2 separate regions of the Homo sapiens genome follow, and region 1 is linked to region 2. Evidence: promoter capture Hi-C in human tissues and cell types (Jung and others, 2019). All regions are on one chromosome and are shown on one strand. The core of a region is centred on a gene start or on the middle of the fragment in contact, and the rest is flanking DNA. Distances in the headings are between cores, read along the strand shown. Region 1 has its middle 29 kb from the start of LINC01944. Region 2 holds the start of NEURL1B (neuralized E3 ubiquitin protein ligase 1B).

The links. The method cuts DNA at HindIII sites, captures the fragments that hold promoters and counts their contacts. A contact is called where the count stands out against the background at its distance.
Region 1: a fragment that was not itself captured here is called in contact with the fragment with the promoter of NEURL1B in region 2 in 10 of the 25 tissues and cell types used here (H1 embryonic stem cells, IMR-90 fibroblasts, bladder and 7 more).

What each region holds. Positions count from the first base shown.
Region 1 is chr5:172,585,329-172,591,003 of GRCh38, forward strand. No RefSeq gene overlaps it. Among named protein-coding and RNA genes, the nearest start is that of LINC01944, 29 kb to the left of the region's middle. The HindIII fragment of the contact is 3,256 bases long and covers 2,309-5,564 here.
Region 2 is chr5:172,637,038-172,642,906 of GRCh38, forward strand. NEURL1B (neuralized E3 ubiquitin protein ligase 1B) reads left to right here and starts at 4,226. Exons shown (of 5, transcript NM_001142651.3): 1 at 4,226-4,400. The coding sequence starts at 4,370. It overlaps LOC107986478 (a long non-coding RNA gene), which reads left to right. Exons shown (of 3, transcript XR_001742996.2): 3 at 1-1,441. RefSeq lists a silencer at 3,988-4,277. The HindIII fragment of the contact is 6,548 bases long and covers 1-5,685 here.

The sequences.
Region 1 (5,675 bases), core at 2,687-5,186, 52 kb before region 2:
GGCTTGGTGACACATTGCTCCAATCTCTGCCTCCATGGTCACACAGCGTTCTCCCTGTGTGTCCCTGTGTCTCTCCTCTTCTTACAAGGAGACCAGTCATATTGGATTATGGCCCACCCTAATCAAGTATGATTTCCATCTTAATGTGATTACATGGGAAAAGATGACAATTTCCAAGTGGGATCACACTCACACGTATCAGAGGTTAGGACTTCCACCTGGCTTTTGAGCACACAATTCTACCCACAACAACTTGGGTAGGAAATCATAGGGAATTTGTAGGCAAAAACAGAGATAAACAAAAGAAAAAAGAGATAAAAATAAAATTGTTAAAAAGTTGCATTACCCAGAGATAACAACTCTAACCTTTTGGGATGTCTCCTAAATATTATTCCCTCTCTACAAAAATATGTCATTATTTATGCAAAAATTCAGTCATCCTGTGCACACCATTGGGACCTGCTTATTTCACCCGATGAAATACAGTGTATGTTCTCATTGTTTTTCAAGCCTGGATTAGATCTTCCCTATTAAAATTGAGATGCACTACCTATGTGTCCTTCTTGATGCAGAAAATACGACTGATATCGTCTTAGCCTTGCTCACTTCCTTTCTTGTTAATGTCAATCTCATCACTTCCCTATAGGTCAATATTTTGGTCCTGCTTTACAGGTGAAGATATAGATTCAGAGATGTTAAGTACCTTGTCCCAGGTCACGAAGCCAATAAACATCACACTGGAGATCTGCACCCAGGGCCGTCAAAGGATAGAGTTGCTTCTTTGTGTTATTACTTGAAACCACCTCCTTCGATGGAGCTGCTTCTTGGGTATTATTCTATCAGGGATGCTATTAAGATTCACCTTGCAGGTCTTGATGGATGTGAATGAAGGAGAATTTGCAGGTGAAAAGGCAGGTGGAGGAGGTGTCATGCAAGGGCACAAAAGTAGGAACCGGCTCGCCCTGAGAAGGAAAACGTGAGCTGTTTGCTATAGCAAACAGTGAGGCAGGGCGAGGTGGGAGGTGTCAGCTGGGTCCTGCGAGGAATCTGGGCGTTATCCAGACAGCGATTGGAGCCCCTGGCACTGTCAGCACGGAGAAAGCTTGCGTTTTGGAGAGCTCATTCCGGCTGCAGGGTGGAGGATGGCTGGGAGAGGTTGACCAGGGCAGAGAGATTGGGGAGCCAGGGGGCGAGTAAGGGTGGGGGCTGGGGATGGGGTGGGGTGCGGCTTGACCAGTTGTATGAGGAAGAGCGAGGCTGGGGAAGGCGGAGTAAGATCTGAGGTCCAGCAGCTGCTCTCTGGTCTCCAGAGGAAGCTGAGGTGTGGGCCTTGCCCTGGGTGGCTCCACTTCAGCCCTGCTGGCCAGATCGACCGCCCTCGTTCTCTTTCTTAGCAGGAGACCTCCTAGTTGGCATCAAGCTAAGCCTCAGGCCTCACTGGTTGGAAGCCCTGGCTCCACACCACAGAAGGCACAGAGAGAAGTGGTGTGGCAGATGTACTGGGAACATGGGATTAAACACTTAGGGAGTGACGGAAAGCTGCCCTCTGGAGGGTGCGGGATGGGGCCCAGGCCCTGCCTCCTGCGCAGGAAGGCTGGGTGGTGGGGGCTGGAGGAAACAAGTCCCCTCTGGGGAGTGGAAGCAGGCTCACCCGTCTGTTTCTGGGGAGTGGAAGCAGGCTCACCCCTCTGTTTCTGGGGAGTGGAAGCAGGCTCACCCCTCTCTTTGCCCCCCCGGCAACACACACACAGTGGACCTAGCCCACACTTCCATCATCCGTCCTCGGGCAAAAAGATGTGCTTGTTTCCTCCAGCCCTCGCCACCCAGCCTTCCTGAGCAGGAGGCGGGGCCTGGACCCCATCTCCCACCCTCTGGAGGCAGCTTGATGCACACATCAGTGGTGCAGTCCACTCTCAGGAGGTGGAACTCGGTCCTCTGTGCGGGCCCTGGAAGTTTGGGCAGAGAATTCTGGGCTCCTGAGTGTCTGGAGGAAAGTCAGAAGTGGGGAGAAGGAGGGTTCTGGGCTCTGGGTCTCTGGCTTGGACAGCTGAATAGACTTAGGTGCTGCTCCCCGGTTTTGGAATCCCAGAAAAGGGAAGAGGCAGCTGGGATAGGGGTGATGATGAATTTAGAGCGAGCAGGTTGCCCTGAGGGGCTTGTGGTCGAGGAGGCTGAGTGGGGGAGCTCACCAGTCCAGGCTTAGCTACAGACCGAGGAGGGCCTCAGCTGCTGACCCCCAACACCCCAGAGAGATGAAGGATTCCTTCCAAACTCCTGGGCCAGTTGTTCCTCCCTCCCAGGTGCCAACTATAGTTACGGAGCTCGAATCATGGGGGATGGTCAGCCCTGTCTCCTCTGGTCCCTCCCTTCCCTGGCCTGCTCTATGGAAGGTCTCTGGGGTTCTGAGCCTTCCAAGAAGAGGAAAAGACAAGATGTCTCAACTCTAAGGTCAGAGCACTTTTCTAAGGAGTATCTGGATGTGGAAGAGTAGGCAAAGACATGAAAATATTAAACCTGGATAGGCCAAAGCATAAAGAGCTCTGGAATAGATGGGAAGGAAGCTGCCACTGATGGACTGACTGACTGATTGACTGATTGATTGATCGATTGTAGTAAAATGCATATAACATAAAAATTGCCCTCTCAACTGTGTTAAAGTGTACAGTTCAGTGGCATTAAAGACATGCACAATGTCATACAATGCCTACTATCCAGTTCCAGAACTTTTCATCACCCCAAGTGGAAACCCCATGAGCTACCATTGATTCGGGAGAAACTATGCACTGTGCTGCATTCTTCACTCCCATTAGCTCAGCTAACCCTCCTCATAGCTTTGAGAGGAGTCTGTTTCGCAGATGAGGAGAATGAAGCTCAGGAAAGAACAATAAGTTGCTCAAAGCCATACAGGTGGTACATGCCCAAGACAGGATTTGTGTCCAGGTTTGTCCAACTCCAGAGCCCATTATGTCTGATGGGGGCAGTTGGAGGATGCTGAGACTGGGGTAAAACCCACACAGCTGCTGCTGCTGTCCACTGGGGTACAGCTGGGTTGATCTCTACCCACACCCCAGAAGATGGTAGAGGACCTAGCAAGGCATTCTGCTATGCAGAGGAACTGTCTAGATGAACCAGGGACTCAGGCTGGAGATGGGGCTTAGCTGGGGGAGCAAGGGAGTGGGGCACAGTGCCAGGGCTTGTGACCTATTGAGGGCAATCCCAGTTAGGGGCTGGCAGTAGGGACCAGGGTCCTATCCCTAGGGAAGAGCGCTGATCCCAGCCGTGCAGTGGACAGCCGGCGTCAGAGAGGTCCTCCATGCCAGGCAAGGGGCTGCCAGGAGCACCAGCTGGAGGTGGGGCCTGACTCCAGATCCCAAACCCTTCCCAGCAGGGGTCTGAGTCCAAGCAGGAAGTGCTCGTGGCCCTCAAATCTGTGTCTCCCGTGGACTCCGAAAAACTCAAGATTTCATTGGTGTGAAGGCCTCAGATGCACCCGTGCAGCAGGAAGTCAGAAAAGCTTTCACCTTTTCTCTTCTCTTTCTTCTACGTGTGTGCATGCAAATACACTCAGATGTAAAAATGGAATCTTATTATACATCCAGTTTTGCCACCTGTCTTTTTTTTTCTACTCAAAAATGTCACGGGAATCTTCCCAAGCTATTTAGACATCATGCGGTTTAAAGGCGACACAGCAGTCCATTGCACGGCTGCCTCCTAGTTTATCTGACCCAAGGTTCTTACTTGGCAGCATCTGGAGACATTTTTGATTGTCACAACTTGAGGGGCGGGGTGCTACTGGCATCTAGTGGGTAGAGGTCAGAGATGTTGCTAAACATCCTACAATTGACAGGACAGCTCCCTCTAATGAAGAATTACCTGGTCCCAAATGTCAATGGTGCTGATCTAACCAATGTCCCACTAATTAGCATTTAGACCTTATCCAGTAGCCAAATGGTTTGATTATTACAATGTCGCCATTAACATCTTTTTGACACACAGTCCATCCTCATTTTTCGTAGATTCCTTTTGGCAAATGTGCCTACTTGCTTAAATTTATTTGTAACCCCAAAAGCAATATTTGCTGCACTTTGACAGTCGTTCTCAGATACGCACAGAGCAGTCAAAAGCTTGCCTCACCCAATGGGCACTTCCCAGACGAGGTGGAGCGAGGCCAGGCTCTGCCTTCCTGTGTCAGCTCTCGCACTGGAAATTAGCGTCCTTTTGCAGTGTATTTAGTGCCACCATTTTTTGTGCTTTTTGTTGGTGATGTCACTGTTAAAATGGCCCCAAGCACAGAGCTGACGTGCTGTCTAGTGACCCTAGGCACAAGAAGGCTGCGATGAGCCTTATGGAGGAAAGACATGTTAGAGAAGCTTCATTCAGGTTTGAGTGATGGCCATGAGTTCAACGTGAATGAATCTGCAATATACACTAAATAAGGTGTCTTTGAACAGAAACACACATACAACGAGGTGGTGTATTGATCACTCGACAAGTGTGTTGTGACCAGAGGCTGAAAGGACCCTAACCCTGTATTTCCCCTGGGAGCAGTGCCTTGATGTTTGCTAATTCGGTGTTCCCAGCAACTTTAAAGAACATGACTGGCACAAACAATGAGAACTGATGGTACACCATGATTGTTTTACATGTTGTATACCCTGGAAGTGTGGTGGCTGCCTCACACGGTGAGGTCCTTTTGAGTATTGATACTTAGGATCAAACTAACATGCAGCAACAATGCTCTCACCAATGGGATATGAGAGTCTCAGTTCCCTGCACTCTTCCCAGCATGAAGTAGGGTTGATTTTTTGCATCTTTTTCAGCTATTAAATTTTTTTCATTTTTTTCCAACTATTGACAATTTCTTGAACTCCAAGGGAATGTGCACGGAAAGAAATAGTCTTACAATTTTGTACATTGCCCAACGTCTAATTTTTCATTTCCCATAATTAATACTCCTCAAAAAATTTAACATTCTAATAATTAAGCTGCTGAGTTCTTAAAACTTATGAATTTAATAAATTAGATGTTCCCAAGCATTTAAGCTTTGATTACAAACTTAACCAAATAAGCTCTTCACACATCTATTATTTCAAATTCTCGTAAGTGCTTTAAATATCTTGAAAAGTAGACAATTATATAACGATAAAGCTGACAAGAACACTTTCACCATAACTGGTGATAGCAGGACCAACATCATGGATTTCAACTTGTCTTTTTATTACTTCTATTCTTATTTTCATTTACTATCTCTTGTTATTTCTAGTTTCTTCCTGGGGCTAGGATTTTATTTACCCAACCAAAGAATTGAAGTTTACTTCCCAGGCTGCCTGAGCCTGCAGATACCAGCCAATGGTAGATGACTCAGGAGCCTGGTTTGTGAGACTTGGGTGCATCTTTCACCCATTATGTTGCTGGGCACACCCCTTTTTAGGACTTCCTATGCATTCTATCTGTTGCATTAGGCCCAGTGCAGTGGCTCATGCCTGTAATCCAAATGCTTTGGGAGGCCAAGGTGGGAGGATCACTTGAGCCCAGGAGTTCAAGGCCAGCTTGAGAAACATGGTGAGACCTCATCTCTACAAAAAATAAAAAATAATTAGCTGGTTGTGATGCACGTACCTGTGATCCCAGCTACTTGGGAGGCTGAGGTAAGAGGATTGCTTGAGCCCAGGAGG
Region 2 (5,869 bases), core at 2,976-5,475:
GCTGGGCAAACACCCTGAAGGAAGGGGTCATTTCACGCAGGTATCTGCAGTGGGCATACCCCCTAGCCTGGCACAGCAGCTCAGTGTGCACCCTTTTTACAACATGCACCTGATTGCCTGTTATTGCATGGGGCAGGGCCTGCCAGGGCATGCCCCCAGGGAGCAATGCCAGGGAGCCCGGCCAGGGCACTCCCACTACCAACTGCCCCGGGAGGCTCTGCTGACGCTGCATAATCAAGAGAGACAGCCCCACCCAGAGGCCCCTGCAGCCCATGTATGGGTACTGGTGCTAAAGGAGGGTGGCACAGTCTGTGCAATTCTGGATGTGATTGGTAGAGATGTGTATGTGTGTGAAAGTCAAATCCAGGAGCTGCTGTGACTGGAGGCTGCTGCCCGGGCCGGAAGATGTCCCCACCCCATGCTCTGCCCCACAGGCTCTATGGCAGCCGTTAGTGTCTGCGGGTTCTGGTTCTGAGACCCCACCCGTTCCTCTGCAGCCCTGGTGTCCTGCCGCCTTGGCGCCTGGGCAGAGCTGTCCTCTCTAACTTTAAGGGACACTGCTTAGAAGATGAGGCTTGGATATGGGCACACGTAGGTTCACATCCCAACTCCTCTTAGCAGCTGCAGAGACTTAGGCATGTGACTTTACCTGTCTGAGGCTTGGTGTCCTCGTTTGGAAAATGGGGATGCTAGAACCTATCTCCTTGGATGTGGTATGACTATAATATTTGGAGAAGGAAGAGATTCACATTCCATCCCTGTGGTTATAAAGTCTCCTGTGCGGCAGGTGCTGAGTCCAACAGTCCCTTCCCTTCCCTTGTTGCTGTTAGACATAGTGCCTGGATCCCAGGCCCCTAATACATGCAGACAGCATTTCCACAGTGTCCCGGCCAGCCCTGCTTGGGAGCTAGTGGGAAGAGGTGAGATTGGGAGAGGCAACAAAAATGGGAGGCCCACATCCCAGGAGATCAGCTTGGTACACAAGCTGCAAAGACAGGGGAGCACCTCTGCAGTCCTCTCAGGGTCAGTAGAGGCAGGACCAATCAGACTCATAAACCTCAAACCATAAATCACCCCCATGGCTTCATGTGGGTTGTAGGGGCTCAGTGGATGATTGTACTGGAAGGTATACTTTAGAAGACATGTGACTCAGGAAGCCCCTCCTCAACTGCCTGGCAGGAAATATATGGTTTCTATTTGCACACCTCCTGGGACAGGGATCTCCCTCTCTCCCAAAGCCACCCTTCCACCTTCGTGGACTAGCTTTGTCCTCCTTCTCTAGTGTGGTGCCCAGAGCCAAAGCGACTTCTGGAATGGTCTAACCAACATGCACTGGAGCAGCAAGCCCCTCCTTTGTCCTAAAGACTATATTTCTGTTAATGCATCCCTATTTTGCTCATTTGCTTATTTTTCCCTGCACATATTACTATTCATCACACCAGGGTCTAGGGCTACTAATGGCAAAAACTCATTCTCTCACAGCTCTTTCTCTCCTCTCCCTTCTTATTACCTTTCTCCATTCCTTCTTTCTTCCCTCTCTCCTTCTTTTCTGTTTTTCTCTCAGCTCAGGGCAATGCATCTCTGCAGTCAATTTATGCAAATGTGTATTGAGCACCTGTGTCTGCCAGCCCTGTTCTGGGCACTGGGGTTTCCTAGATGATTACAGCCTTCTTCCTGCCTGCAGGAGCATCCTGTCTGGCAGTGGAGAGGACGCAAAGGTAACAGCTACAACACCTGTCTTGAGGGTGTAATTGAGGGGACAGCACAAAGTGCAGAGGGATCTCAGATGGGTGAGCAACTGCTGTATGTGCCCAAATATAAGGTAATCCAAGTAAAGATTACAGGCAATCCCCATTCTCCCTATGAGAAGATGCACTTTCTTATTGAATAATATAAACTTAATGGGGTGAAGATGAAATAGACATCTACTTGAAATATTTCATTTATTACTTTAGTTATATAAACATATTTGCAATTATTCTCATAGAGAATACTAATATGGAAAGATTGCTTTTGGCAGTTTCAAATTTCAGGAAACAATTTGATTCTAATTCTTTTCTGTGTGGCTTTGACACTAGTGTCACCATCGTGTGTGTTGGGGGCAGCTTTTTACTAGAGCAGGTCCTACTCTCAGAGATCCAGAGGCTAACACACAGCCCTTTCGAATCCACATGTCAGGCAACTGCTGGGCACAGTGTCTCCACCGCAGGTCCAATCCGCATCACATTTTGACAGTAGGGATTCATTTGCTGCAGGTGAGTATTTGTGATCTGCACAACATGGCCACTTACTGAGGTACTCTGAAAGTGGCCTTTAAAAGGCCTGTTCACAACCTCTCACCCTTGCCGTCACAAAGTCATATTTGTTTGCATTGCCTTATCTGAGGAAAATTCCCTCAATTCCCTTTATAATATTGCTGACCTCCATATGCAACCCAATGTCACATAGATTAAAGGAGGATCAGCCAGGTGAGGTGGCTTAGGCCTGTAATCCCAGCACTTTGGGAGGCTGAGGTGGGGGAACCGCTTGAGGTCAGAAGTTTGAGACCAGCCTGGCCAACATGATGAAATCCCATCTCTACTAAAAATACAAAAATTAGCGGGGCGTGGTAGTGGGTGCCTGTAATCCCAGCTACTCAAGAGGCTGAGGCAGGAGAATTGCTTGAACTTGGTAGGCAGAGGTTGCAGTGAGCCAAGATTGTGCCATTCCACTCCAGCCTGGGTGACAGAGTGAGACTCTGTCTCAAAAAAAAAAAGAAAAAAAAAAAGGATCACGCTAACGGACCTTTCTCAAACAGAACTTTGGGGTTAAAAATTAAGTCACTGGGCGAGCACCTGTAATATGAGAAATTAGTAACTCAAATGCAAGGCAATCTTATGTTCAGACATATGACGTCAGGGGGGAGTGGGGAATCAAGGTTTCCCGGAAGTGGAAGCTTGGAGCTGGCCTTAAAGACCCTAGAACCCTCTGGGATGGGTCATGTACTGTAAGCAGAAGGCACCGGAGATGCAGAAGGCTGTCTCCTGAATACCCCGCTTTTATTCGCATAGCTTCAGGCTAGCTTTGCCCTGTACCATTGGAAGATCTTGGGCACCTCTCTTCCACTCTCAGAGCCTCAATTTCCCTATCTGTGAAATGGAAGTAATAATACATATTTCATAAAGTCTCAAGGGATACAAGAGCATGAAAAATAGAATTGAAAAAAACAGCTCATTTGGAATCGGGTCTTCTTGGGGAAGTCATTGCACTTCCTGGGCCTCAGCGTTCCAGCCTGTGAAATGGAGCTCGAGAAGGGCACAGCTGCACTTCCCACTGAGTGTGGTCCAGGTGCCTGAATGAGGAATGCCTGTTACTGCCTCTGCCAGGAACACTCTACCTATCTCTTCTCATGGCCGACGCCTTCTAGTCCATCAGATGGAGCTTATGTGCCCCCACCCCAGATTCTCCCTATGCCCCCAAACAATGTCATCTCCTCACTCTACTGGGATCTGTTTTATTTTCTTCCTGGCTTTGATTATTATATAATGTGATCGTAATTGCTTGTTATTTCTATCTTCAGCATGCCATCTCCAGGGCAGTGGGGACCTTGTCTGTATCTACCCGGCCCAGCACAGTGCCTGGTGCATAGACTGTGCTCAATAAATATTTTAGTGAATGAGCGAATAAATTAATGAATGTGGGTTCCCTCTTCCCAATCTTTGGACACTGGGTTTCTTCTATTCCTCGGTACCTGGCCTAGGGGATAGAAAAGACTCCACCCAAACCCGGGAACCCTGGGTGTACTGTCTCCAAGCCCTTTACATGGTCCCAGGGGCCCGTCTGCCTCTGTGTAAGTTCCCCCGGGGCCGAAGCACTCTCCAAAGAGGTCTGCCGGGGCTAGGACTCGGCCGGCTGGGGCCCCGCGCCTGGAAGAGGGCCTGGCACACAGTGGGCCTTCTCAAAGTGTTAGAACAAATGGGTGACAGGCCAGCAGACTGCCGATCCTGGCACCCGAGGGCACCCAGCTGCCCTGCGCGCCTTCCCGGCCCGGGCGCGGGAGCGGCGAGGGCGGGAGGCTTGGCTGTGCTTCTCCCGCCGCCTGGTGCAAACTTTCAAAAGATGCGGCGGCCGCGGCCCCGCCCCTGCACTGTTGGAGGCGGTGGGAGGCGGGGGCGGAGCCGGCGGGCCCGGGCCGGTGGCTCCGCCTCCTCCTCCCGCAGGCGCCGCCGCCGCCTCCCTCCCGGCTCCCGCCCCAGCTGCCGCCCGCCGGCTCGCCCGTGCAGCTGCGATGCCCCGGAGCGTCGACCCCGGTCCTGGTCCCTGGCCCGCCGCGTAATTAGCCTCCGCGCGCCCAGAGCGCGCCGCCGCCAACGCCGCGCCCGACGCAGCGATGGGCAACACGGTGCACCGGACCCTGCCAGGTACGCCGGGGAGCCCTGCCCGGGAGGCGGGCGCCGGGCTTCTCTCCTCCGGGGGACCCGCTGGGTGACTCTGGAGAGCTACCCCACGGCCCTTGGAGCCCTCGGCTCGCAGCGGGCTGGAGTCTCCGGTACCTCCCGGACCTCAGCTCGGCGCGCGCCCCGCGGCTGGGCTTTGCGCCCCGGGAGGGCGGGTACCGCGTCCTGGTTACCTTGGGGACCCCAGTCCTCATTCTCCCGGCTTTGGCCAGATGCGCAAAAAGGGCCGCTGGGGCGATGCCGCGCGCCCCCTCGCCTTTGTTCCAGCCCGAGGGCGCTGATGAGCAAACTCAAGGCGACCTGGGTGGGGGTGACTGGAGCCGGGCTCGCCAGGGCTTCCGACGGTCAGAAGCCACCCGTGGTGCCAAGACTGCAGCTGCCGAGAGTGAGGGGTGCTCTCAGGGGCACCCCAGTTTCCAGCCTCCCAGCGCCCCCGCGGCACATGCTGCCGTGCTTTGGCCACGTTCCCACGCGCACCCCGGTTGCGCCCCCCTCTGGTGTCCGCTCCACTGGGGACTCCTTCGCCCCCTCGGAGTCGCTGCTGCAGATCGCATCGCCCCCTAGTTAAAATCGCCCCAGAATTTCTGGGACCGGAGTGAGGGGATCCGGAGCAGGTTAACGGGGTAGGAGGAGGCCTTACTGGAAAATACATGGTAATTGTGGGAACAGATCAGCGGTCCCGCGCCCGCGCGTGCCCGTGGAGGTTCAGTGCCCAGCACTTTGCATACCCCAGCTCGGTATGCAAAGAAGCTTCGCGATAAAGATGTGTATCCCAGTTTTACAAATAAAAAAATTGAGTGTCAGAAGAGGTGAAATGACTCACCCAAGGTCACACAGCTAGTAGTGGGAGAATCTGGAGTGGGACCTGTGTCTCTCTGCCCTCCCTCCCCTCACACGCCCAAGTATTTAGAAGTATTTTGTCTTAAGGCTGGGCCTTTGTAGCATCCTTTGGGCAAAAGGTGAGAGGAGTGTGTGTGTGTCTAAAGCACAAAGGCTCGGCTCAATGGGGAAGCAAGTCAGCTGTGAGGTTAATTTAGTGTGAGGTTCTGGAAGAGGGACATATCACCCCATCTCTGCTATAACACTCCCATATAGCTCTCCCTTCTAGGCATTACATGCTCTTAAAGAATAATTTCCCCTGGAGCGGGTTGAAGTGGACAGTGCTGAGCCCAGGATTCCCAGGGTCAGCTTATGGAAGAGGAGCCAACTCCTACTTTACAAGCCTCTGAGCAACTGCACTCAAACGTTCAAATTCCCAGAGAGCTGTAATCATCAGCAGAGTCACCAGCTAGTCAGTGGCAGAGGTGGGATTAGAACCCAGGTCTGCTTACTGGAGGGTGGCCTCTACCTCCTGTGGACAGGGCTATTGCCAGGTTGGGGGAGAACCCACCCGCGGGTCAGGAGATATCTGGGGATGTTGGCAAATAGGGCAG